Linked DNA regions of Homo sapiens: all the other regions are linked to region 3. Evidence: promoter capture Hi-C in 16 types of primary human blood cells and fetal thymus (Javierre and others, 2016). All regions are on one chromosome and are shown on one strand. Each heading gives the region's core, a stretch centred on a gene start or on the middle of the fragment in contact. The rest is flanking DNA. Distances are from core to core; before and after follow the strand shown. Region 1 has its middle 130 kb from the start of KAT6A-AS1. Region 2 overlaps KAT6A (lysine acetyltransferase 6A). Region 3 holds the start of DKK4 (dickkopf Wnt signaling pathway inhibitor 4). Region 4 overlaps KAT6A-AS1 (KAT6A antisense RNA 1). Region 5 has its middle 19 kb from the start of CHRNB3. Region 6 overlaps KAT6A (lysine acetyltransferase 6A). Region 7 overlaps KAT6A (lysine acetyltransferase 6A).

Evidence for each region. The method cuts DNA at HindIII sites, captures the fragments that hold promoters and counts their contacts. A CHiCAGO score of 5 or more calls a contact.
Region 1: a contact is called between a fragment that was not itself captured here and the fragment with the promoter of DKK4 in region 3, in 7 of 17 cell types (non-activated CD4 T cells, naive B cells, naive CD8 T cells and 4 more). The highest score is 7.4, in non-activated CD4 T cells.
Region 2: a contact is called between a fragment that was not itself captured here and the fragment with the promoter of DKK4 in region 3, in 9 of 17 cell types (activated CD4 T cells, total CD4 T cells, naive B cells and 6 more). The highest score is 11.7, in activated CD4 T cells.
Region 4: a fragment that was not itself captured here is called in contact with the fragment with the promoter of DKK4 in region 3 in 1 of 17 cell types (erythroblasts); the score reaches 5.9 in erythroblasts.
Region 5: a contact is called between a fragment that was not itself captured here and the fragment with the promoter of DKK4 in region 3, in 1 of 17 cell types (M0 macrophages). The highest score is 5.2, in M0 macrophages.
Region 6: a fragment that was not itself captured here is called in contact with the fragment with the promoter of DKK4 in region 3 in 5 of 17 cell types (activated CD4 T cells, non-activated CD4 T cells, total CD4 T cells and 2 more); the score reaches 8.3 in activated CD4 T cells.
Region 7: a fragment that was not itself captured here is called in contact with the fragment with the promoter of DKK4 in region 3 in 4 of 17 cell types (activated CD4 T cells, naive CD8 T cells, total B cells and 1 more); the score reaches 9.2 in activated CD4 T cells.

Annotation. Positions count from the first base shown.
Region 1 is chr8:41,923,252-41,926,679 of GRCh38, forward strand. No RefSeq gene overlaps it. Among named protein-coding and RNA genes, the nearest start is that of KAT6A-AS1, 130 kb to the right of the region's middle. The HindIII fragment of the contact is 1,896 bases long and covers 377-2,272 here.
Region 2 is chr8:41,963,440-41,966,668 of GRCh38, forward strand. All of the region lies in intron 8 of KAT6A (lysine acetyltransferase 6A), which reads right to left. Among named protein-coding and RNA genes, the nearest start is that of KAT6A-AS1, 87 kb to the right of the region's middle. The HindIII fragment of the contact is 2,712 bases long and covers 1-2,659 here.
Region 3 is chr8:42,375,740-42,378,887 of GRCh38, forward strand. DKK4 (dickkopf Wnt signaling pathway inhibitor 4) reads right to left here and starts at 1,490. Exons shown (of 4, transcript NM_014420.3): 1 at 1,196-1,490; 2 at 1-91. The coding sequence starts at 1,306. The HindIII fragment of the contact is 5,398 bases long and covers 1-2,194 here.
Region 4 is chr8:42,061,550-42,065,064 of GRCh38, forward strand. The region is part of intron 1 of KAT6A-AS1 (KAT6A antisense RNA 1); the gene reads left to right. Among named protein-coding and RNA genes, the nearest start is that of KAT6A, 11 kb to the left of the region's middle. The HindIII fragment of the contact is 983 bases long and covers 1,063-2,045 here.
Region 5 is chr8:42,676,688-42,680,075 of GRCh38, forward strand. No RefSeq gene overlaps it. Among named protein-coding and RNA genes, the nearest start is that of CHRNB3, 19 kb to the right of the region's middle. The HindIII fragment of the contact is 1,054 bases long and covers 1,594-2,647 here.
Region 6 is chr8:42,012,311-42,015,453 of GRCh38, forward strand. The region is part of intron 2 of KAT6A (lysine acetyltransferase 6A); the gene reads right to left. Among named protein-coding and RNA genes, the nearest start is that of KAT6A-AS1, 38 kb to the right of the region's middle. The HindIII fragment of the contact is 2,762 bases long and covers 466-3,143 here.
Region 7 is chr8:42,035,875-42,039,133 of GRCh38, forward strand. The region is part of intron 2 of KAT6A (lysine acetyltransferase 6A); the gene reads right to left. Among named protein-coding and RNA genes, the nearest start is that of KAT6A-AS1, 14 kb to the right of the region's middle. The HindIII fragment of the contact is 516 bases long and covers 1,299-1,814 here.

The DNA of each region.
Region 1 (3,428 bases), core at 75-2,574, 450 kb before region 3:
ACTCAATTTTGCTGTAAACCTAAAACTGGTCTAGTAAATCAAGTACATTAATTTTTTTTAAGAAAACCTCCCTCTATGATTTTTCTCTCATTATAGTTTTGCCCATTTTTGCTTTATATATTTTAGGATCACATTAATAAGGCCATATGAATTTAGAATTTTTATACCTTCCTGATGAATTAAAACTTTTACCATTTTTAACCCTCTTTATTTTGGTAATCCTTTTTGCCTTAAATTCTATTTTGTCTCATATTAATATACCTATACTAATGCTTTCTTTTGTTAGTGATTTCCTAACATAGTTTTTCTATTTTTTTAACTTATGTTTTTCTTATGTTTTTGATGTTTCTCTTATCAACAGCATATAAGGTTTTTAAGCTTTATTTTTCTAATAATCTGTGTCATTTAAATGGAATATTTAGTCCATTTACAAATCACTTAATTACTGATATATTTGGGTTTAAGTCTATTTATAATGTCTTTTCTATTTACTTGTGTCTTTTCTCTCCTTTGTTCCCTTCTTTCAGATTATTTTTCACATTTTATCATTCCATTTTCTCCTTGTATTATTTTGGAATTACACACTGTTTCTGTTCTTTTAGTGATTACCCTGGAAATTAAAATATGCATCTTTCAAAAAAAGTATCTTTAATTTCTCAGTAATATTAATCAAGACATTGAAAGACGTTGAAGCACTTTAACTCCATTTATCCCTTCCTAATTGATATGAAATTGTCTTGTGTTTAAGTGTATGCAATGCATGTGTGTATGAGAGAAAAAAATCATGCCTTTCCAATAATGCAGAAAAAGTGTTTGATAAAATTCAACATCCTTTTATGATAAAAACTCTTAGGAAACTAGGAATTGAATGGATATTCCTTCATGTGATTAAGGGTATGCCTGCTCTAATGACTTCAACACTGTACTGAGCCAGTGCCGTAAGACCAAAAAAAGAAAAAATGATATAATGTTCGGTGAATGGAAGAATCAATACTGTTGTCAATTTTCATTAAATTGATTTTTAGAATAAATGCAATCAAAATAAAATGTCATTATGATCATTTAGGAATCTAATACGTTAATTCTAAAAATATATGGACATGCACAAAGCCTAGAAGGGTCAATCACTTCTGAGAAGAAAAACAACTTAGGAGGAGGACTTGCTTTACTTAATATGAAGATTTATTTTGTAGCTACAGTAATCAAACCAGAATAGACATAGAGATCAATGAAGCAGAATAAATCGTCCAGAAATAGGCTGATGCGTATATGGACACTTGACATAGAGCAGTGGAGAAAGAAATAGTGCTGTCAGAACCGTGTCTCCACATGGGGAAAAGATGAAACTGGTCCCTACCTCATGCCATGAACAAAAATCAATTTCAGATACTTTAAAGATTTAACAATGTAAGCAAAATAAGCTGTTAGAAACTAGAGAATATCAGATAAAACCATTATAATCTCAGAGTAGGGAAAGATTTCCCAACCCACACAGAAAAAAGCACTACCCATAAAGGAAGATACTACTGAACTTGGAACACACTAAAAACTTATGTTCATCAAAAGATACCCTTAAAGTGAAAGGGCAAGTCCCAGAATGGCAGAAGATACGTGTGACATAAGTAACTGACCAAAGACTCTTATTCAAAGTATATAAAGTACTCCTATAAATCAATAAGAAAAAGGCAATTCAATAACGATCCAGGCACAAGACTTAAACACACTCTTCACAAATGAGGAATCTCAAATAGCCACTAAGCATATGAAAAGGTACTCAACTTCATTAGTAATCAGAGAAATGCAAAAGAAAATCACAGAGATTCCACTACACACACACCAGACTGGCAGAAATTGAAATATTTGAAAATATCAAGTATTGACAAGAATGTGGAATAACAAGAACTTTCATACACGGCTAATGGGGGCCAACAACAAGAAACGGAATGGTTACTTTTGAGTCTGGCGTTAGGTGGTACAGCTGGAGTTACACCTGCCTGATCATCCAGCAATTCACCTTTTAGGAGCATACCTATGAGCAATGTCTGCAAATGTGCACCAGATGTATGTGGGATTAAACACAGCAGTATCATTGGTAATAAACCAAACTGAAACCTACATATTTGTCAACTTTAGAATGTATACATTTTTTGTAGTCATATAATATTATACAGCAGTGAAAATAAATGAACTACAGCAACGTCCAACTTCATAAACAAATCTCACGAACATGTTGAGGGAAGCCAGATGCAAACTGTATGATTCCATTTCTGTAAGCTTCAAAACAAGATAGAGTGAAGCTATGATGCTTAAGAATGCACACCTAGGTAGTAAGATACAAGAAAAAGATTTACCGCCTAAGCCTGGATGGTGATCATTTCCGCTTGGGAGGGTAGACTGTGCTTAGGAAGGGCCCTCCAAGCCACAGTGGAGGGACTACTGAGCTGCAGTTCTATTTTGCAGCCTGATTTATTTTTAGAGAGGTATTCACTTTAGACAAATGCATTCAGCTATATGTGTTTTATTGACTTTTCTGTATGTGCTTTATTTTCACAATAACAAGGGGTTTAAAAAAGATGTAAGGGAACCAAGTCCATCTTATTGCATGGGCATTTTCATGTCTTCGTGTGACACCTGAGGCTGCAGAGGAAAGCAGTTTAGATGGCAGTCCGCTGGCAGCAAGGCAGACCCCACGGAGCGGGGAGTTGCCTGATAGCAGCAGCACTGCAACCTGAGATCCCTGTGCTGAGACTCAGCAAAGGTGAGTGGCAGTAGCTGGCTTGAGTCTGCTTTGCTTTGTATTCCTCTGTTCTTTTAATTGAACTACTTCCCTGACCTTTTAAAGTTGTTCTTGCAATAATACATATTATTCAGCTTTCAGATTTACAGCTTTCAATCATCCTTTGAGAATGTCAGGTTAGTTCTAGTTAATTTTAGCTGTTTTCTCTAAACAGGAGGTAAGACAAACTTCTTTGAAATCATGTAATTATCCCATTTGCAAGAAGTCCTTGCCTTTATTAGTAAAGCCTTAATCACTGTCTCTTTGTCAATGTTTTCATTTTCTTTGGAAAACTATGATCAAATTCAATCATTTTGATGTAATTGACTACAACTGCTTTATTAACCTTCATTTACAAAGAAAACTATAGCATTTGGAAAGGCTGAGGTGGGAGGATCACTTGAGCCCACGAGGTCAAGGCTGCAGTGAGCTGTGATAGCGCCACTGCACTCCAGCCTAGGTGACAGAGTCAGACTAGCTCAAGAAAAAAAAAAAGAAAAAAAGAAAAAAATTAAATCAAGCAATTTTACTAAATGTAACAAATCAATTAAACCAGTGAAACTTGCTTGTACATGGGACAGAGCCTCAGTCCTAGCAAGGAAATTGTGTATGAATGTTTTTACTTTGTTCACAACAGACTTTACACTTAGAA
Region 2 (3,229 bases), core at 54-2,553, 410 kb before region 3:
CACTAGAAGACCTACTTGGTTCTGCCCTCTCCTTCAATCCTAACTCCCAATCCAACAGCAGTCTTTTCCATTCTATCTTAAGTCTTTCTCAAAACGATTATCTATCTCTGTCTCCTATCTATCTCTTCTACCTTCATTTAGGCCCCAGTCACTTTTCATTTTGACTACTGTAATCATCTGACTGGTCCCTTGCTCAGGTGTTCCTCAATCCATTGCTGACAATATCACCAGACTTGAGTTTCTAAAATACAAATATGATGTCATCCACTTTTTAGAAATTCTTTAGCAGTTCCTCAAGAGCTATTTAGCTACTACTTAACTACTTTAAAGAGCTACTTTACCTGCAAGATTAAGTACAAACTCCTTAATATGAAACACAAAATCTTCATGATCTAGTACCCCTCCAATATCATCTCTTGTTTGAACTCCAACCAACTGCACACAGCTCCGAGAATACACGATTTCTCACACCCAAACTTGCTACTAGAAATGCCTTCTCACTCTTCTCCAATAGTAAACTTACTCATCCCTTCAGCACCCTACACAAATGTCACCTCCTCTACAAAGACTTAAAATTTTAGTTAACCACAATAACTAAAAATAGAACAATAACATCCCTAGATGTCTTCCTGTTCATTCTCACTGCAATTTATGCATATCTCCACAGTAATACTATATCATAAATTAAGCAGTTAAGGCCATGGAGTCAGAATACCAGGGTTCAAATATTGACTCTGAAACTTAACAATTTATAACTCTAGGTAAAACAATCCTTCTAATGTTTCCATTTCTTCATTTGTAAGATGAGGCCAAGTAATTAATAATAAAGTTGTATTAAATGAAACAAATTAATATATAATGCTGAATATAGTATTTTACATATAATAAGAGGGTATCTATTACTAACCACATGGCTTTAATTACTTGTTTATTCAATAGTCCCCCTTATCCACCCACTGGGAATACACCTTTCCAAAACCTACAGTGAATACCTGAAAACTGCAGATAGTATTAAATGTTATACAAGTTGAGTATCCCTAATCTGAAAATCTGAAACCTGAAATGCTCCAAAATCTGAAACGTTTTGAGCACTAATGATACTCAAACGAAATGCTCGTAAGAACACTGCAGATTTTGAATTCAGGATGCTCGACGGCTAAGCATATGATGCAAATATTCCAAAATCTGAAAAAAAAAAAAAAAAAAAATCAAAATCCAAAACACTTCTGGTCCCAAGCATTTTGGATAAGGGATAGTCAACCTGTATATACTATGTTTTTTCCTATTCATCCATACCCATGATATTTAATTTATAAATTAGGCACAGTAAGAGATTAACAACAATAACTAAAAACAGAACAATTAAAACGATGTACTGTAATAACAGTTACGTGAATGTGGTCTCTCTCAAAATATCCTATTGCATGGTATGCACCCTTCTGATGATGATGAGGAGGAGGAGACGATGATAATAAAATTCAGACCTTGGCAAGCCAAGGGTAACTGAAACCATGGAAAGCAAAACCACAGATAAAAGGGGGATTACTGTAAATACAGGAGATAGGGTGATTATTGGCCCATCAGATCAACAAATATTTGAGGACCTACTACATGCAAGTCACACTGTGGAGATGATATAGAAAACACAGTATCTGCCCATAAAGGTGTTGTAAGACAGGCAGTCCTTGTTTTTGATGGCACTGTGTTAATGGAAACAGGTACACATCAGAATTGTGTCCGTGCTTCTGAGGTGACAGATTTGACCTTAGTTCTGATATGCATGGGTTTTTTGTATGTTGTAATAAAACTTTATTTACGAACGCTAACATTTTTCACATAATTTTCACATGTCCATAAATATTATTCTTTTTATTTTTGTCCAACTGTTTAAAAATATTAAAACCATCCTCAGCTTGCAGGTCATACAAAACAGGCTGTGGATGGGACTGGGCCACAGGCCATATTTTGCCAACCCTAACACAGGTGAAGCAGTTTCTAAGCTGTATCTATGCCCTCAAAAATGACTTTCTGCATTACCTTTATGAGTCTTTTTATTATTCAAAACATCCTCTTATCTAGCCAAGATGAACTTTCCCAACTGGCTTCAAACCACTTTTTTTATTACAGCGTCAGAGAACCTGGAAGTCATCTTTGATCATCTCCTGTTCCTTCAATCTACTTTAGTTTGATAAGCATGGGTTTCAGTTAACATTGCACCATGCAAAGTGAGGAATAGCTGGAGTTTAGTTTGAGATAAGACAGGGTGGAACATCTGTTGGGCAATGGTAATACACTGAATTACTAGTATTAAGCTGCATTTTGGAGCATTTTGAAAGCTAGTAACAAGATGTCAGTTTCGGCATGACGGGATTTTAAGGTACCCCCATGACATCTTTTTGCTGTTAAGTGATGTCTCCTTGATGCTGCTGAAAGTAGGAATGGTAGGTGGGGCGATGTTTACTGTGTTAAGGCATTTACCCATTAAATATAAGTCACATATTAAAGGCCGCATAGATGTATTTTTAGTTCATTGGATAATTTAGCACAACTTATTAAAATAGTAGTTAAGAGCCTGGGAACTAGAAAAGGCTAGCACAGTTCAAATCCTATCTCGGCTGAATCACCTTAGTTGGGCAAGTCACTATCAGATTTGTTGAAAAGCTTAAACGAGTTGATATTTGCACAGAACTTACAGCACTATGCCATTCATGCAGTGAGTGCCAAATAAATGTGAGCTTCTGCTTGCTATCTCAGTGGCAGGTTCTTGGAATACACAGATAATACGTCTTTGCCCTCCAGCTGGAATTATTTATAGTAGTCTCCCCTTATCCCCAGCTTTGCTTTTCGAGGTTCTAGTTACCTGTCGTCAGCCTCGGTGCAAATTTTATCATCTCACACCGTCAGAAGAGTTAGTACAGTACAATAGTACAATAAGAGATTTAGAGAGAGACAGACTACATTCATGTAACACAATACAGTACATACAGGGTTCAGTACAGTCCACGGTTTCAGGCATCTACTGGGGATCTTGGAGCGTATCACTGGTGGATACGCGGGGACTCCTGTATAGTAGTCATTGCTTCCTCAAAGCTGAAGTTAATGTTGTTTACTCCATCTGATAAGCCCTAGTTCTCTCCATCTACCTAAATCCTCATCATTCCTTAGGACTGCTGCTTCTGTGATCATCTCAGGTTGCGCCAATTCTCACACATCTTAGTATACTGTGAAC
Region 3 (3,148 bases), core at 240-2,739:
CACGACATGTAGCACAGAACGGCTTCTCATCGCGGGGCTGGAGGCAGAACTTTCTGGTATTGCAGTCCGTGTCAGACAGGCACTGTGAGCCCTGTGGAGGGAATCTGTTATCACAAGGCTAGGAAACCCCCAACACGATGGAAGATGACTTATTATTGAAGGCAGGAGGCGGAGGGAGCCAAAGGACAGTGGCGCTGTGACAAACCCTGGGCAGCATCTTACTCTCCAGTGGAAATGGTTTTCTCCCACAAAGGGAAGCTCATGTCACCCGGGGAGACCTAGGCGCTGCAAAGGCTATTTGAGTTTGAAAAATTGACTTAACTCAGAATTTAGTTTTCCTGTGCTCTTTGTGAAAATGGGAAAAAATGTTTTCCTATGTGTGTCTTAACAGGTGAGTATGAGATTTTCAATATATCTTAACTCTAGAAGCTGGCTACAGTTTCATTAAACATACTATTGATGTTTGTGGCATTCCTATTTGATTTTTTACTCTAGTGAATCACATTTAGCTTAGAGACCCTTCCCTAAGTGAACTGTCCTTTGATTTTCAATGATGCCTCATTGACATAGAGAAAGAGATACCGAAGATCAATTGTTCTCATACACAGTTGATGCTTCTACATAGACATACAACGTAGGTGTAGCATATATGATATATGTAATAATCTATACGATATATAATAACATATACACATACATAAAGCGATTCCTAAAACAACTCTCTCTGTGAAGTTAGATGGTGACAAGGCAATGCATCATGGCCCTCTGTTTAAATTCTCATTCCCATGTTTGCTTGCTGGCTGTGTGAGCTTGGGTAAGCTCTTCAACATCTCTGAGTCTTATTTCCTCATCTGGAATTAGGGAATGTTTCACCTATCTCAAATTGTGAGGAAGAGTACATGACGTATTACATGTAAAAGAGCTGGCACATAGTAGAGCTTCCAAAGTGTTCGTTTATTTCGTGATTTATAGACAAACGTATGGCCGAATGATGTGAAAAGCCACTGTGTTTATTTCATACATTCACACTAAGGCCACTGATCCTACCAGGATGCCCTCCCAAATCCGAAACCAATTCAATTTACCTGCTAGGTAAGACATTTCATACATGAATCAGAATGACTTACTAAAGCCTAAACAAAACACCCCAGCTGTCAGCAGTCCCGTACCTCGCCCCCCTCCCTAGCAGCCTTACCTTCCGGGCCCCATGCAGGTCAGCAGAGCTCCTGATGTTGTTGAAGTCCAGGACCAGAGCTCCCAGGGGAGAGCAGAGCCAGCTCAGCCCCAGCAGGACGGCCGCCACCATCCTTCAATCCCGGGGCTCCTGGAGGGTCCCAGCACTGTGCGTCACCAAAGCGAGGCTGCTCTCCACCCAGAGCAGAGCTTCCACTAAGCTGGCAGCTCAGCACGTCGTCTGTTTGTCACTGCTTTTTCTGAAAGAAGTAAACCTTAGTCTGAGTAAGGTGCGTGAAATCGGCTGAGCAAAGTCTGACCAGCAGGTTCCTCCTGAAACTATTTATAACCAGATGTGCCTCCTCCCCGCTCCGTTCCTTCCTCCTGCCCCACACAGGCTTCAACAAATCCCTTCAAATCTGTTTGATCAATAGTTCAAAACAAGGACTCAATAGAAGGAGAGAAGAGGCAGGGCCATGCGGCTTCTCCTCCAGGGGTTCAATCCCTCTTAATTATTGCATATCAAAGTTAGTTCAAAGGGCCACGGCAGAGCAGGATGTCTGTATCAAAGGCAAACTCTGATAATCACCTGCATTTCCTACCTTCAGTAATCCTTTGGGGGTAGGGAGGGAGTCTGCCCTAAGATCTGTTTTCACAGCTAATTGTGCTCAAAGAAAGGATGAATCATACTGGCCAATATGCTATAGAGGATGCCAAAAACTAATGAGGTACAAAATACACTGAGAAGCTGTAAACTGGGCTTCAGATAGTGAGGACAGATAGAAAAAGAGAAAACGCCCCCTGATTAGCTCTGGCATCCAGATGTCAAAATCCCAACCGCTTAAAAGTTGTGAACGTAACAGCACCTGTTCTGACTAAATGCCATTTGGGAAATTACTTTCCTTTAAATGAAAATTGAACTGTTTGAAGTTAGGGTTATTAGGAAAATAATGTAATTTATGAAAATCCCATTTTTCAATGGTGGGAACAATGATAGCGCATTTTACACAATTCAGTACGAAGCTTTGGGTCCATTTTATCAGCAACATATTTAATTTGTGTTGCATTATGTAAAACTCACTTAAGCAGAACAAGGATCCAAGTCTCTGGCTGATTTCAGATGAAATTTCATGTATTTCCAATTTTCCTAATACGAATTTTTTAAAACTTCTGCTTCATCCCTTTCCTGTCTGATTTTTTTCCATTTGGACTATTAGTCAGGTAATTTAGACATGTGCTTATCACTGTCTTAAATACTTTAAGGGTAGAACAATCTAGATCTGGATCAAAAAATCATTTTTTCTCTTCATTGTTTCATTGCTCTTAGCATAGAGTCATCTAAAATGCATTTTTTCTATGCCATAAATGATAATCTTATTATTTACTACATTTTCCTGCAGAACAACCTAACATCAATTCATTGACATGAATCTCAGCATTCTGTGCATGGGAACATTCTCAATTTTGAGTAATGCAGTGCCATTCCGAGGGTGATGCAGGTGATTCGAGCCTTCCTACTACTTGGCCCTTGTCCTTGGGTTGGTATTGCTTGTCTACCTCTCGTATGGAAGTTACTTGTTTTAATCCCTTAAACTGACATCAAACAACACCCTTTGATAGCATGATAACCCTGGTGACTAGGGGTGTTACAGAATTTATTTTCAAGTTGTACAATTATGACCAAGGATAAAGGAAAGAGCCCCCAGGGTTCTGTCTCTGCCGGGTTTCTCTGCTTCCTGCTGCCTCACTGTAAGGGAATTTCAGGTTACCAAAGGCCCCTGGCAATATACACAGGCGAAAGAACTGACGGGAACTCCTGTAACACGGCACAAACAGCCACTGAGCACTTAGAGCACTTGGCATGGAACAGAGCCTCGGATTACATGTTAGGAATAAAATTTGAAACTCCAATGGCCGGGCACAGTGGCTCACACCTGTAATCCCAGCACTTTGGGAGGCCAAGGTGGGAAGATCT
Region 4 (3,515 bases), core at 304-2,803, 310 kb before region 3:
CTATTCCTGATAAAAATATGAGCAAATTAGAAATAGGAAGGAACTTCCTCAAAATGATAAAAGAAATCTCAAAAAACCTGCAATTAACATGGTACTTAATGATGAAAGACAAATACTTTCCCTCTAAGACATGATCATAGCAAAGATATCTGTTGTCACCACTTCTCTAGTCAACATGGTACTATAGTTTCTAGGCAGAACAGTAAGGAAAGAAAATAAAAAGGCATCCAAATTGGAAAGAAAGAAAGCTATCTTTGTTCACAGATGACATGATCGAATATCTAAAATATCCTACAAACAACTGCTAGAATTAATAGGTTTATCAAGGTTGCAGGATATAAGATCAATATACGGCCAGGCATCGTGGCTCATGCCTGTAATCCCAGCACTTTGGGAGCCGGAGGCGGGCGGATCACGAGGTCAGGAGATCGAGACCATCCTGGCCAACATGATGAAACCCCGTCTCTACTAAGAGAAAAAACTAGTTGGGCGTGGTGGTGCACACCTGTAGTCCCAGCTACTTGGGAGTCTGAGGCTGGGGAATCGCTTGAACCCAGGAGGTGGAGATTGCAGTGTGCCGAGGTCACACCACTGCACTCCAGCCTCCAGCCTGGCAACAGAGTGAGACTCCGTCTCAAAACAAACAAACAAACAAACAAAAAACAAGAAGTGGGCTGGACGCGGTGGCTCACGCCTGTAATCCCAGCACTTTGGGAGGCCGAGGCGGGTGGATCATGAGGTCAGGAGATCGAGACCATCCTGGCTAACACGGTGAAACCCCATCTCTACTAAAGATACAAAAAAATTAGCCAGGAGTGGTGGTGGGCGCCTGTGGTCCCAGCTGCTCGGGAGGCTGAGGCAGGAGAATGGCATGAACCCGGGCAGCGGAGCTTGTAGTGAGCCGAGATCATGCCACTGCACTCCAGCTTGGGTGACAGAGCAAGACTCTGTCTCAAAAAAAAAAAAAACAAGAAGTGTTGGTAAGCATGTGGAAAAATTGGAGTCCTTGTGTAGTGTTGTTAAGAATATAAAATGGTGCAGCCACTGTGGAAAACAGTATAAAGCTTCCTCAAAAGTGAAAAATAGAATTACCATAAGATCTAGCAATCTCACTTCTGGATATATATACAAAAGAATTGAAAACAGGCCAGGCGCGGTGGCTCACACCTATAATCCCAGACTTTGGGAGGCCAAAGCGGGCGGATCACCTGAGGTCAGGAGTTGGAGACCAGCCTGGCCAACATGGCGAAACCCTGTCTCTACTAAAAATGCAAAAATTAGCTGGGCGTGGTGGCGCAAGCCTGTAATGCCAGCTACTTGGGAGCCTGAGGCAGGAGAATTTCTTGAACCTGGAGGGCAGAGGTTACAGTGAGCCGAGATTGCACCACTACACTCCAGCCTGGGCAACAAAGAGTGAGACTCCGTCTCAAAAAAAAAAAAATTGAAAACAGAATCTTGAAGAGATGTTTGTATACCCATGTTCAGAGTAGCAGTATTCACAGTAGCCAAGAAGTGGCAGCAACTCAAATGTTCATCAACAGATGAATGGATAAACAAAATGTGGTATATACATACAGTGGAATATTATTTGGCCTTAAAAAGGGAAGGAAATTCTGACATACGCTACAACATTGATGAAACTTGAGGACATTGTGTCAAGCGAAATAGGCCAGTCACAAAAATATAAATATTGTATGATTTCCCTTACATAAAGTAGTCAAATTTACAGAAACGGAAAGTTGTATAGTAGTTGCCAGGTCCTGGAGGAAAAGAAAAATGAGGAGTTATTATTGAATAGGTACAGATATTTGGTTTTACAAGATGAAAAGAGTTCTGGAGATGAATAGTGGTGATGGTTGTACAATATCAATGTATTTTTAACACCCATCAAGTGAACACCTAGAAATTGTTAAGATGGTAAATTTTATGTTTTGTGTATTTTACCAGAATTTTTTTAAAAAAATAAAGTGTATTTCTGTATACTAACAACAAACAATTGGCGATTAAAAAAAAACTAGCTTTGTACAGTTGCTTAAAAGTATGAAAGCTTTGGGGATAAATCTGACAAAATAAGTGCGAGATCTGTTCATTGAATGCTGCAAAATATTGCCAAGAGCTAAGAACTAAGAAAATGGGGCCGGGCGTAGTGGCTCACGCCTGTAATCCCAGCACTTTGGGAGGCCGAGGCGGGTGGATCACCTGAGGTCAGGAGTTCAACCAGCATAGTGAAACCCTGTCTCTACTAAAAATACAAAAAAAAAAAAATTAGCTGGACCTGGTGGCGGGCACCTGTAATCCCAGCTACTCGGGAGGCTGAGGCAGGAGAATCACTTGAACCTGGGAGGCAGAGGTTGCAGTGAGCAGAGATCACCCCACTGCACTCCAGCCTGGGCAACAAAAGCAAAACTTTGTCTCAAAAAAAAAAAAAAAGAACTAAGAAAATGGAAAGATACACCTTGTTTTGTGGTTGGAAACCTCAATGGTGTTAAGATATCAATTATTCCCAAATTCAGCTATGGATTCAATTGTAATCATAATCCCAGCAGGCTTTGTTTATAGAAACTGACAAGCAGGCCGGGCGTTGTGGCTCACGCCTGTAATCCCAGCACTTTGGGAGACCAAGGCAGGCAGAATACCTGCAGTCAGGAGTTCGAGATCAGCCTGGCCAACATGGTGAAACCTTGTCTCTACTAAAAATACAAAAGTTAGCTGGGCGTGGTGGTGCACGCCTGTTATCCCAGCTACTGGGGAGGCTGAGGCAGGAGAATCGCCTGAACCCAGAAGGCAGATGTTGCAGTGAACTGAGATCATGCCACTGTACTCCAGCCTGGGTGACAAGAGTGAAACTCCATCTCAAAAAAAAAAAAAAGGAAAAGAAACTGACAAGCAAATTCTAAAGTCTTATGAAATACAAAGTACAGGATTGTCATAAACTTTGAAAAAGGACAAAGTTTGCTGGATTTATACTACATGATTTTAAGGATTCTTATGTTTTCTCATGCAAGGTTTATTAGTGAATAGCACTAATACCTACCATACTATGACATAGGATTGTTGTGAGAATTTTTAAAGTTACTACATATAGTTGTGGCACTAAACCAATCTAAGTTATATAGAGACCACAATGTAAGTGTTAACTCTTATTAGAGTTGTTATTATTTGTAGTATTTTAATTTGCATTTCCTTGATTACTAGTGAGATTGACCTTTGTTTATTGGCCATTTGAGTTTTCTTTTCTGGGAAGCTCTTCTTCAAGTCTTTTGTCTATTTTTCTATTGGATTGCTTATATTTTTCATAGTTCTTCATATATTCAAGGTACTGATACATGTCAGTTCATGTATGTTGCATATTATGTCCCCTAGTTTTAAGCTTTTCCTTTCAGTCTTTTTAAGCGTGTCTTTTGTCGAGTGGAAGCTCCTATTATTCGTTTACATAAAGGTATCCTTTCCCTTTTTTGTCATTTGTGCGATGATAATTGGTACCCTTATCTTGCTTCTAATCTTAGAAGGAATGC
Region 5 (3,388 bases), core at 871-3,370, 300 kb after region 3:
GCAACCTCCCCATCCCGGGTTCAAGCGATTCTCCTGCCTCAGCCTCCTGAGTAGCTGGAATTACAGGCATGCACCACCACGCCTGGCTAATTTTTGTATTTTTAATAGAGATGGGGTTTCACCATGTTAATTAGGATGGTCTCGAACTCCTGACCTCAGGTGATCTGCCCGCCTCAGCCTCCCAAAGTGCTGGGATTACAGGTGTGAGCCACCGACCCCTGCCTGGTATCATTTTTAACACCTATGTTAGTATTTAGTTTACAACTAATAAATGCATATATACATACATAATTGTGTCAATAGGTGGCATGTGGAATTGAAAACTCATTCCATGCTCCTCAAATTCCAGGTTTTGAATGTTCCTCACATCACTCATAAGGACCAAAAAGTGTGTGGGGGTGGAGAGGGGTCTCTGTGGTGGCTTCCTTATCTGCTCAGGGCTCCTGAGGTGGCTGCCCTAGGCCGATCCTTCTCTCCACTGTCGAGATCTTTGCCTCTAGCCCTTTAGGGATAGAAAACTCGACATTCCCAGTCATTGATTGGGTCCTCTGAATAACTAAAATCCATAACTCGAAAAACCCTGTCTTACCAGTGAGGAAAAGGACAACCTGGATCCCCTTTCTTTGGGGCCACCACGTTTGTTTTTGTGATGTTCACAACTCACCCTCTCCATGTTCAGTATCTGCATCCCACGTATCTGCTGGCCGCAGGCGATCTCCTGTGCTGCTGCATCAACCTATCAACCTGTCTCCCAGCAACAGAGGCCAGGACCCACAACTCCAAAGCTGTCTGCTGTTCAGGCATTTATCATACCTTGATCACTTACCCTACTATCCCAATCAATGAAATGGTGTGTTTAATCAATACCACTTATTTGTCATGGATCCATGCTGAATCTCAGTGGTAACCTTCATTTGTCTAGGAAGACTGTGTAGATTTTGTTAGGGATTGATATCCATGTGTAAGTCTCTAGTTTCTAGACTGTGTCTGCCTTTCCTTATTCAAATATTTCAGTTCAGGCCAGGCACTGTGGTTCACGCCTGTAATCCCAGCACTTTGGGAGGCTGAGGCGGGCAGATCACCTGAGGTCAGGAGTTCGAGACCAGTCTGGCCAACATAGTAAAACCCTGTCTCTACTAAAAATACAAAAATTAGCCAGGCATGGTGGCAGGCGCCTCTAATCCCAGCCACTTGGGAGGCTGAGGCAGGAGAATCACTTGAACTCGGGAGGCCGAGGTTGCAATGAGCCGAGATTGTGCCATTGCATTCCAGCCTGGGCAACAAGGGCAAAACTCTGTCTCAAAAAAAAAAAAAAAAAAAAAAATCAGTTCAGAACTGTTGGCCAGGACCCATCACCCCCGGAAACTGGAGTAAGGTAACAAATTGGCTGAAAGATTCTTTCCTTGATTTTCAATGAAATTTCTGTGGTTCTAGTCATGGCCAAAGAGAAGTAGCAGGTGGGAACATACTTGGTTATTCCTACTTCATGTTTTCTAAGAAAAATCCCTTTACTCAACCACTACACGTGAAGTTTTATACTTGCCAACTTAGTATTGCTTCAGGTAAGAACTCACAAAAATGAACTCAAACTAAAGCTTAGCACAAGCTGAAACAACAGAGAAAGGAAGTGAGTTCCTTACTTTCTGATGTTTGACACTTTCCCCAGAGAATTGAAAATCATCTCTAATAGGTCTGATGAGCTGTTTCAAAGAACACACCTCCCTGCCACTTATAAAACCTGAAAGCTACTTTCCTTAATACAGAGAGTTAACTGAGAGCCAGAGGGAAGAGCAGGGCAAAAAGTCCTGCCGGGTCATCAGCAACCCTCTCAGAATTTGTCTGTTTCCTTCCAGGATCAAATCCAGCATGCAGGTGACTACAGTCCCATCCCCCGGCGTTATCTCACAGTGGTACAGAAGGTCTGTGAGCTGCTGGAGACCCCATGAGCTGGGACAAAGGAGCCGAGGGGCAGCAAAGGCTGCTTCCCCAGCCCCACCCTCACTTCCACTCCAGTTCCCCCAGGCAGAAAAGTGAAGCCACCGGAGCCTGCTTTGTAATTCCCTACTCACTAAAGAAGCAAAAGGAAATGAAAAGTCCACAATTATCTTTCTGTCTCCCTCTATCAGCCCATAAACTTGGGTAAGGGGCACATTGTTCTTGGAATGGACTCAGAACAGAGTAGTTATAATATCAGAATGACTTTCTTTTAGGTAACCCTTAGCAATAAAGAGATACCCACACACCTTAAAAAGGTGACTAAAATCCTAAGTAGATGTATAGCAGGCTTAGATTTGCCTCATTCTCATTCAACAAAAGTTTTAAGAGATTTTCAATCCAGGTGCAGTGGTTTATGCCGGTAATCCCAGCACTTTGGGAGGCTGAGGCAGGAGGATCACTTGAGCTCAGGAGTTTGAGACCAGCCTGGCCAACAGAGTGAGACCCCCATCTCTATAAAAAAATGTAAAAATTAGCAGGTGTTGTGGTGCACACTTGTAGTCTCACCTACTAAGGAGACTGAGGTGGGAGGACTGCTTGAACCTGGGATGTCAAGGCTGTGGCGTGCTCAGCCCTGTCTGAAATAAAATAATAAAATTCTATGATTTACAGAACTGTGCTAAGGGGAGGCTCATGCACCTCACTAACTAGAAGCTTAATTTGTGCAGCTTATAGGCCCCTGCCAGGTTAGGGGTGTAATGACCAAACAAAAGAGGGCTGAAGTTTATGCTAGCAGCAAATGAACACTTAAAACACAAAAACAAAGAAAAAACTTTTATGTCAGAAAAAAACTTTAAGTCATAATTGCATCCAAACAACGTAATTGCACTCAAACAACAGCTATGTGGGGTTTTGTCTTTGTTTTTGTTTTTTGAGACAGAATCTCCCTCTGTCACTCTGGCTGGAGTGCCGTGGTGCAATCTTGGCTCACTGCCAACTCTGCCTCCTGGGTTCAAGCGATTTTCCTGCCTCAGCCTCCTGAGTAGCTGGGATTACAGGCATGCACACCATGCCAGGCTAATTTTTTGTATTTTCAGTAGAGATGGGGTTTCACCATGTTGACTAGGCCGGTCTTGAACTCTTGACCTCAAGTGATCCACCTGCCTCGGCCTCCCAAAGTGCTGGGATTACAGGTGTGAACTACCGTGCCCAGCCTCAAACAACAGCTATTTGGATAAGACAAAGTATTCCAATAGTCCTCAGCAGTCGCAAAAACAAAAACAAAAACCCAACACTTTGGATTCCCATATTATTATGCCTTATTGCTCCTTGACATCATTTGGATATTTGTCCCCACCCAGTTTTCATGCTGTGGGGCCTGCTGGGAGGTGATTGGATCATGGGGGTGGATTTCTCATGAATGGTTTAGCACCTTCCCCTTGGTGCTGTCCTT
Region 6 (3,143 bases), core at 597-3,096, 360 kb before region 3:
CATCCTAATCCTTCGAACCTGTAAAGGATAATTTTATTTGGGAAAAGGGTCTTCACAAGTGTGATTAAATTAAGAATTTTGAGATGGGGGGGTTATCCTGGATTATCTAAGCAGGCCATACATGTTGTGACAAGTGTCCCTAGAGAAGCAGAGGAACAGGTGACACACACACAAAGGAGAAGACATGATGTGAAGAGGCAGAGATGGGAGTGATGCTGCTGCTGACCACAAGCCAAGAAATGCCAAGAGCCACCAGAAGCTCAGAATGCCTGCAGGGGCAATGTGTCCCTGCCAACACTTTGAGTTCAGTCCAGAAATACTAATTTCAGACTTCCGACCCTCAGGATAGTGAGGGAATAAATTTCTGCTGTTTTAAAGCTATCCAGTTTCGCAATTTTTTACAGCAGCCACAGGAAACTACTGTACTATATTCACACAAAAACCTATATATGAATGTTTATAGAAAGCTTATTCATAATTGCCAAAAACTGAAACCAAATGTCCCTCAATAGGGGAAGAGATAAACAAACTATGGTGTACCTACCACACCATGGAGTACTACTCAGCAACAAAAAGGAACAAACTATTGACAACTACATGGATGAATCCCAAATGCATGATGCCAAATGAAATAAGCCAAACTTAAAAAACTATACTTGATTCCATTTATATGACAGTCTGGAAAATGTAATATTATAGGGAGAATAATAGCTCAGTGGTTTGCCAGGGTTGGGGGAGGGTGATGACTACAAAAGTCAAGTTTTTTTTTTTTTTTAGTGGATAATGGATCTTTCCTATATCTTGATTGTGGTGATTGGTTATATAACTCTATCCATTTATCAAAACTCATAAAAGTAGACACAGAAAAGAATGCATTATTGCATGTAAATTTATAGATAAATAAATATAGCAATACAGAGGGAGGTGGCTCTGTCATTTTTCTTTCTTTCTTTTTTTTTTTTTTTAGATGGAGTCTCGCTCTGTTGCCAGGCTGGAGTGCAGTGGCGCGATCTTGGCTCACTGCAACCTCCGCCTCCCGGGTTCAAGCGATTCTCCTGTCTCAGCCGCGCATGCCACCAAACCCAGCTAATTTTTGTATTTTTTAGTAGAGTTGGGGTTTCACCATGTTGGCCAGGATGGTCTCCATCTCTTGACCTCATGATCCACCCGCCTTGGCCTCCCAAAGTGCTGGGATTACAGGCGTAAGCCACCACGCCCGGCCTTGGCTCTGCTTTTTTTCAATTACAAATGCTCATGCACACATATGTATGGTCACTTCTGTATTCATCAGCATTTAAACACAATATATGGGGTTCCTTGCTCCTATCCTAACCAAGATTAATGGTCCTTCTATAATTTTCATTCAAAACTGTCCTTGATATTTACTTATTTATTAACCTATTTTATCTAAACAGAGGGTGGTTTACTTTCTAAAAAGATCACTCCACTGACTGCAGATTTAAAGGGACAAGAACAGAAGCAAGGAGTTCAATTAGGAGGCAAGAACAATGACTTAGTCAAGAGGGAAGTAAAAAGTGCTAGATTCTGGATATACAACAGAGCAGGGTTTGGCAAACTGTTTGTAAAGACCAGACAGTAAATATATTCAGTTCTGAGGTCACAGGGTCTCTGTTAAAACCACTCAAGTCTGCCGCGGTACCGTGAAAGAAGCCTTGGACAACACAGAAACGAAAACAAGTGTGGCTGTGCTCCAATACAACTTTACTTATGGACACTGAAATCTGAATTACATATGATTTGCATGTGTTTGAAATATTATTTTAATATTTTTCAACCATTTAGAATTGTTAAAAAAAAAACATTTTTAGCTCATGAACTATAAAGAGGTGGGGGCCATAATTTGCTAACCCCTGTTCTAAGGGGCAGAGCCAAAAGGATTTGCTACTGTACTAGACGTGATGTGTGAGAAAAGAGATGCCAGATATGCTATTAAAGTTAACTATGCTTTTGCTACAGTTAATTTTCATACCAAACTGTTCCATACACAGTACAAAGCAAAAGAATTTCTGGGCCATACTCTGTAATCAGCTATTATAAGCCATTCACAATCATCTATACCCATACTATATATATCCAAGGCCAAACTCCACAGAAAAATCAATTGAAGATAAAATACCAGTTAAATGAACCACATTTTTGGCTTGAGATCAAGAGGCTATGCTCTCTTTTAAAACACACACGCAGAAATGCCTCAGGCAACCAGTTTCTTAAAACACATAGATAATTAAGTCAACAAATATACCTTCAATCCACTGTATGATCAATAAGGGGCAGCAGGTTACAGCAATAAGACAAGGACAGATCGGGGGGCTAAAGAGAAGCAAGGAAAATAAGAAAACAGAAAAAGATTAAATGGGGCTCGGAGGACAGCATATTAGCACTTTTTTAATAAATAAAGGAAGAAATTCAGAGATATTACTCAACTAGAATAAGTGACCTCATATACAAGGGAGGTAGAAACTGAAGTAGAAGCTGGAGCAGTATGTGATCCAATGAAATACTTCGGTACATGCAGTTATTACATGTAGTTACAGGTTCAGGATTACTTGAAATACTTCGGTACATGCAGTTATTAAATGTAGTTACAGGTTCAGGATTACGCTAGGAAAGGATAGATTATGGGTTCAGTTCTCTAAGGAGCTGAGAAATCACTGTCCATAACTGTTCAACTACTCCTCATCTTTAAGCCTCCAGAAACACTATTTCAAATGGGATAACCAGTGCATGAAGGGAGATAGTAAGGCAGAAGAGAGGAGAACAATATAACAGAGTAGGCTATAATGTCAAAGTCAGAGGTTGTCTGCCAATGTTATCCACAAAAACTTCTCAAAGCTCACAAGTAATATGTCCAATGTGGTCTCATGCCCCTTCTGTGCTAAAAAGAATCCGGACTACCAAGCTGGCAGCCCTATGCTACAGTAAGCAGAGTTGCAATCTATAGCCAGATCCCTTCAACATGGATGAGCTGGGGGGAAAGCAGAACTAGGAAGCCAAGAGGACAGACAGATAAGGAGGTAACTATGCAAACAACTTTCCAGATACCACGACAGCACTTAAAAGCAGATCCTATACAAAGTCTTTCTTGCCTTAAGTTCAGAATACAAATTACTGCCACTCATAAA
Region 7 (3,259 bases), core at 307-2,806, 340 kb before region 3:
TCTTCTGCCTGCTAAGGACTAAAAAGTGAGCGAGAAAGATGATAGAGTCAAAAAATGGGACTATTTTTGATGGCACACGGCCCCTGAGGTAGCAGAGAATGGGGTCCTGAAAAAGAATGGAGAGATGAGCCTTTCACACTTCTTTCACTGTCCTATGACAAGGTAGCAAAGCGGGCAGAAATAAGCACAGATGTATTTAGGATGGCATGAGAGGGGTATAAACTCAATGAGCTCAATTGGACAGATTCCATTATCTCTATGATGTAGCATATGGGAGTATCTACTGAAAATGAGAAAAAAAGGTGGGAAGAAATACTGAATTTCTGCAGACAGAACAGACTATACACAGACATACATCTTCAAGCAGAGGGCAGAGCTCAGATTGGAGGCCACAAATTTGTAAGTGGCATCCCACCACATGGTCATGAGATTTTCCCCAAAGTTAAAGCAGAGAGGTTGGGCACGATGGCTCATGCCTGTAATCCCAGCACTTTGGGAGGCCAAGGTGGGCAGATCACCTGAGGTCAGGAGTTCAAGACCAGCCTAGCCAACATGATGAAACCCCGTCTCCACTAAAAAAATACAAAAATTAGCCAGGGGTGGTAGCAGGCACCTGTAATCCCAGCTGCTTGGGAGGCTGAGGCAGAAGAATCGCTTGAACCCAGGAGATGGAGGTTGCAGTGAGCAGAGATCGCACCACTGCACTCCAGCCTGGGTGACAGAGCAAGACTCCAACTCAAAAAAAAAAGGAGAAGGTGGTAAATGGCTGGAGTTTGCCAACATGATGCAGGAGTAGTGAGTGAGTGAGAATGTGCCATAAGGCCAAGCAATGAGAACAGCATTAGAGTGATGGCAGGGCACCTGTCGGAATCATGCAGGTAACTTTCTCGCAACTATATACCACACAAGATCTTCTTGAGATAAAGCAGTGAGGGTAAGGAGAAAGAAAGGTGGAAGATTAGAGTAGTTATAGCCAGGGAGGACAATAAAACAGAATGTACATTTCCAGAAGTACACTGTCCTGGGTCCAAAGTGTGTTCATGAGGGTGTGTGTGAAGCATGCTATTTCATCATTTGTTTGAATGTCAATTATGAGGTTAAAAAGTACCTGCTTCTTCTGTCTTCTGACTCTCTTAGCCAGTCCCCACTACAGAGATGTTGGTTCTAAGCATTAGAGCAATGGTTCTCAACCCCAGCTGCACATCAGATAAACATTCTTAAAAAAATAAAAAATAAAAAAAACTGAAACCTGGGCCTCACTACTAGTCAAATTTAATTAGTTTGGTATTTATTTTTTAAGCTTCCTCAGGTAATGCTAAAGTGAATTTAGTGCCAAGTACCACTGCTTTCCAAAGAATAAGGCTTTGGATTTATGTTACAGAATTAAAGAAAAACTGAGTGGCATGGAAAAAAGTAAGGCAGGAAAATGGTGAAAGAGGGTTTAAATAGTAAGTTAGATATTTAAAGATGCCCTGAATAGAAAAATTGGGAAACTATTAAAGTACAGAATCACACTCCACACACAAAAATAGTAATAATGTTTCTGAGAGTTCTGTTAAAGGTTCTAGAAAACTCAGGAGTTAAATGCTTCACTGTACCCAATGACTAAGAAAAAAGGAACCTAGACTTTACTAAGCTCAAAGAATTAAAAACCAACACTTAGCAGCTCTTCAGGTCAACTACAGTTCACAATTCCCTGGAGGAAAACGCAGCCCATAGTACAAGTCTGACAACACCTCTAGATCTGCGGAATCACCTATTCTACATAAAAGGTAAACGGCAAAAGAAGCAACTATCTTCTTTAACACATTGAAAGCTTTTTTTTTTTTTTTGGCTGCCAGATTTTATTTCCACACCAGTTATCTTCTTCTTAACAAGTTACACCTATAATCTTAAAATCGCCCAGTTATTTTACAAACATCTGTCCTCAATCTTAATCTTTATTTGCCACTATCCTAATGTACTTGCTAAGTTTTACAGCAAAGCAGAAGTGATGCAGAGATGAAGTGTTAGTCATAAAGACCAATAAAGACAAAAAATGATGTGCTGTCTGCGGTCTTCCCCACACGGTCTGTTTACAAGTAACATTACAAATCTCTCAAGCTCCTCCCAGACACTATGTTTATAGAAGTGCTAGACTATACACTTTTGGTCCACCCATATTTAATGTCTTTGGTAAAAATTACTTCATTAATTAATAGAAAGGTTTGTACCTTGCTATCTCTAGCTCAGTCTCAAGAATTTTAAATTCTAACCAATGATCCAAGTCACTCAGAGGTCATTTGTGTTGCAGACCTACTGAAAATTAGACTTACCTTTAAATGGACTTTTTTTCCCAAAACTCAAGGAGTACTTTTTCTTCCAGCATTAAGGTAGCTCAACATGTTCCCCTTCTAATATTTAGCCAACAACATAAGAAAACCTTGATTCCTCTAACTTGGGCCATAAGAAAGCAGTCTTTTCCCAAAAAGTTGTTTCAAAACTCTAACAAGAGTGTATAGCTATTTTCACACACTGAAATAGCAGATTTATATATTTGTGGTTTACGATACCACCAATATTCTCTAGACAAGGTTTATTCTATGGTTTCCATTAAGGAAGAGAATTCTAACTAAATTATTTTAGGCTCACTGCTCTCTAATACTATAAAGCAGTACTACAGCATAATGAAAAAAGCACAAAATTGAGAAGGGCCTGACCAATTCTTCCAGATGGTATTAACTGGCTGTGTGGCACTGGACAAGACACTTCAACCTCTTTGGCTCTCAAATTTCCCTATTATTTGTGAAATCAGATTAGAATCACTGTGATCCAAGATTGCTACTGGCTGAACATTCTACACAATGCAGAAGATACAAGTCTTTTTTTCTAATAATCTATGTTTCGTAAGCATAATACAATTCAACCATAAAAGATACCTCAATCAACACTACAGCCAGACTTACTTTTCCTTAGCAGTCTTTTTTTTTCTTTAAATTGCTGACAGTTAAAAACTATTTTGACCCAGAATGGCATACTACTATAATCTCTATGCTTAATTTCAACTCCTAATAAAATAGTGCCACACTACAAATGGTTTCTTCACCTGTTCCCTAATGAAGTTGAAAATAATTCCTTGGCCTTGAATTTACAGATACATGTACAGGGCTGATGAAAGCCATCTGCTGGGAACTATGACTTTCATATGAAAGGAAAAAACCAGAAGGAACTGCTTTCATTTTCCTGGGAACCAGCTGCAGCTGAATGAGTCCTAATCCTG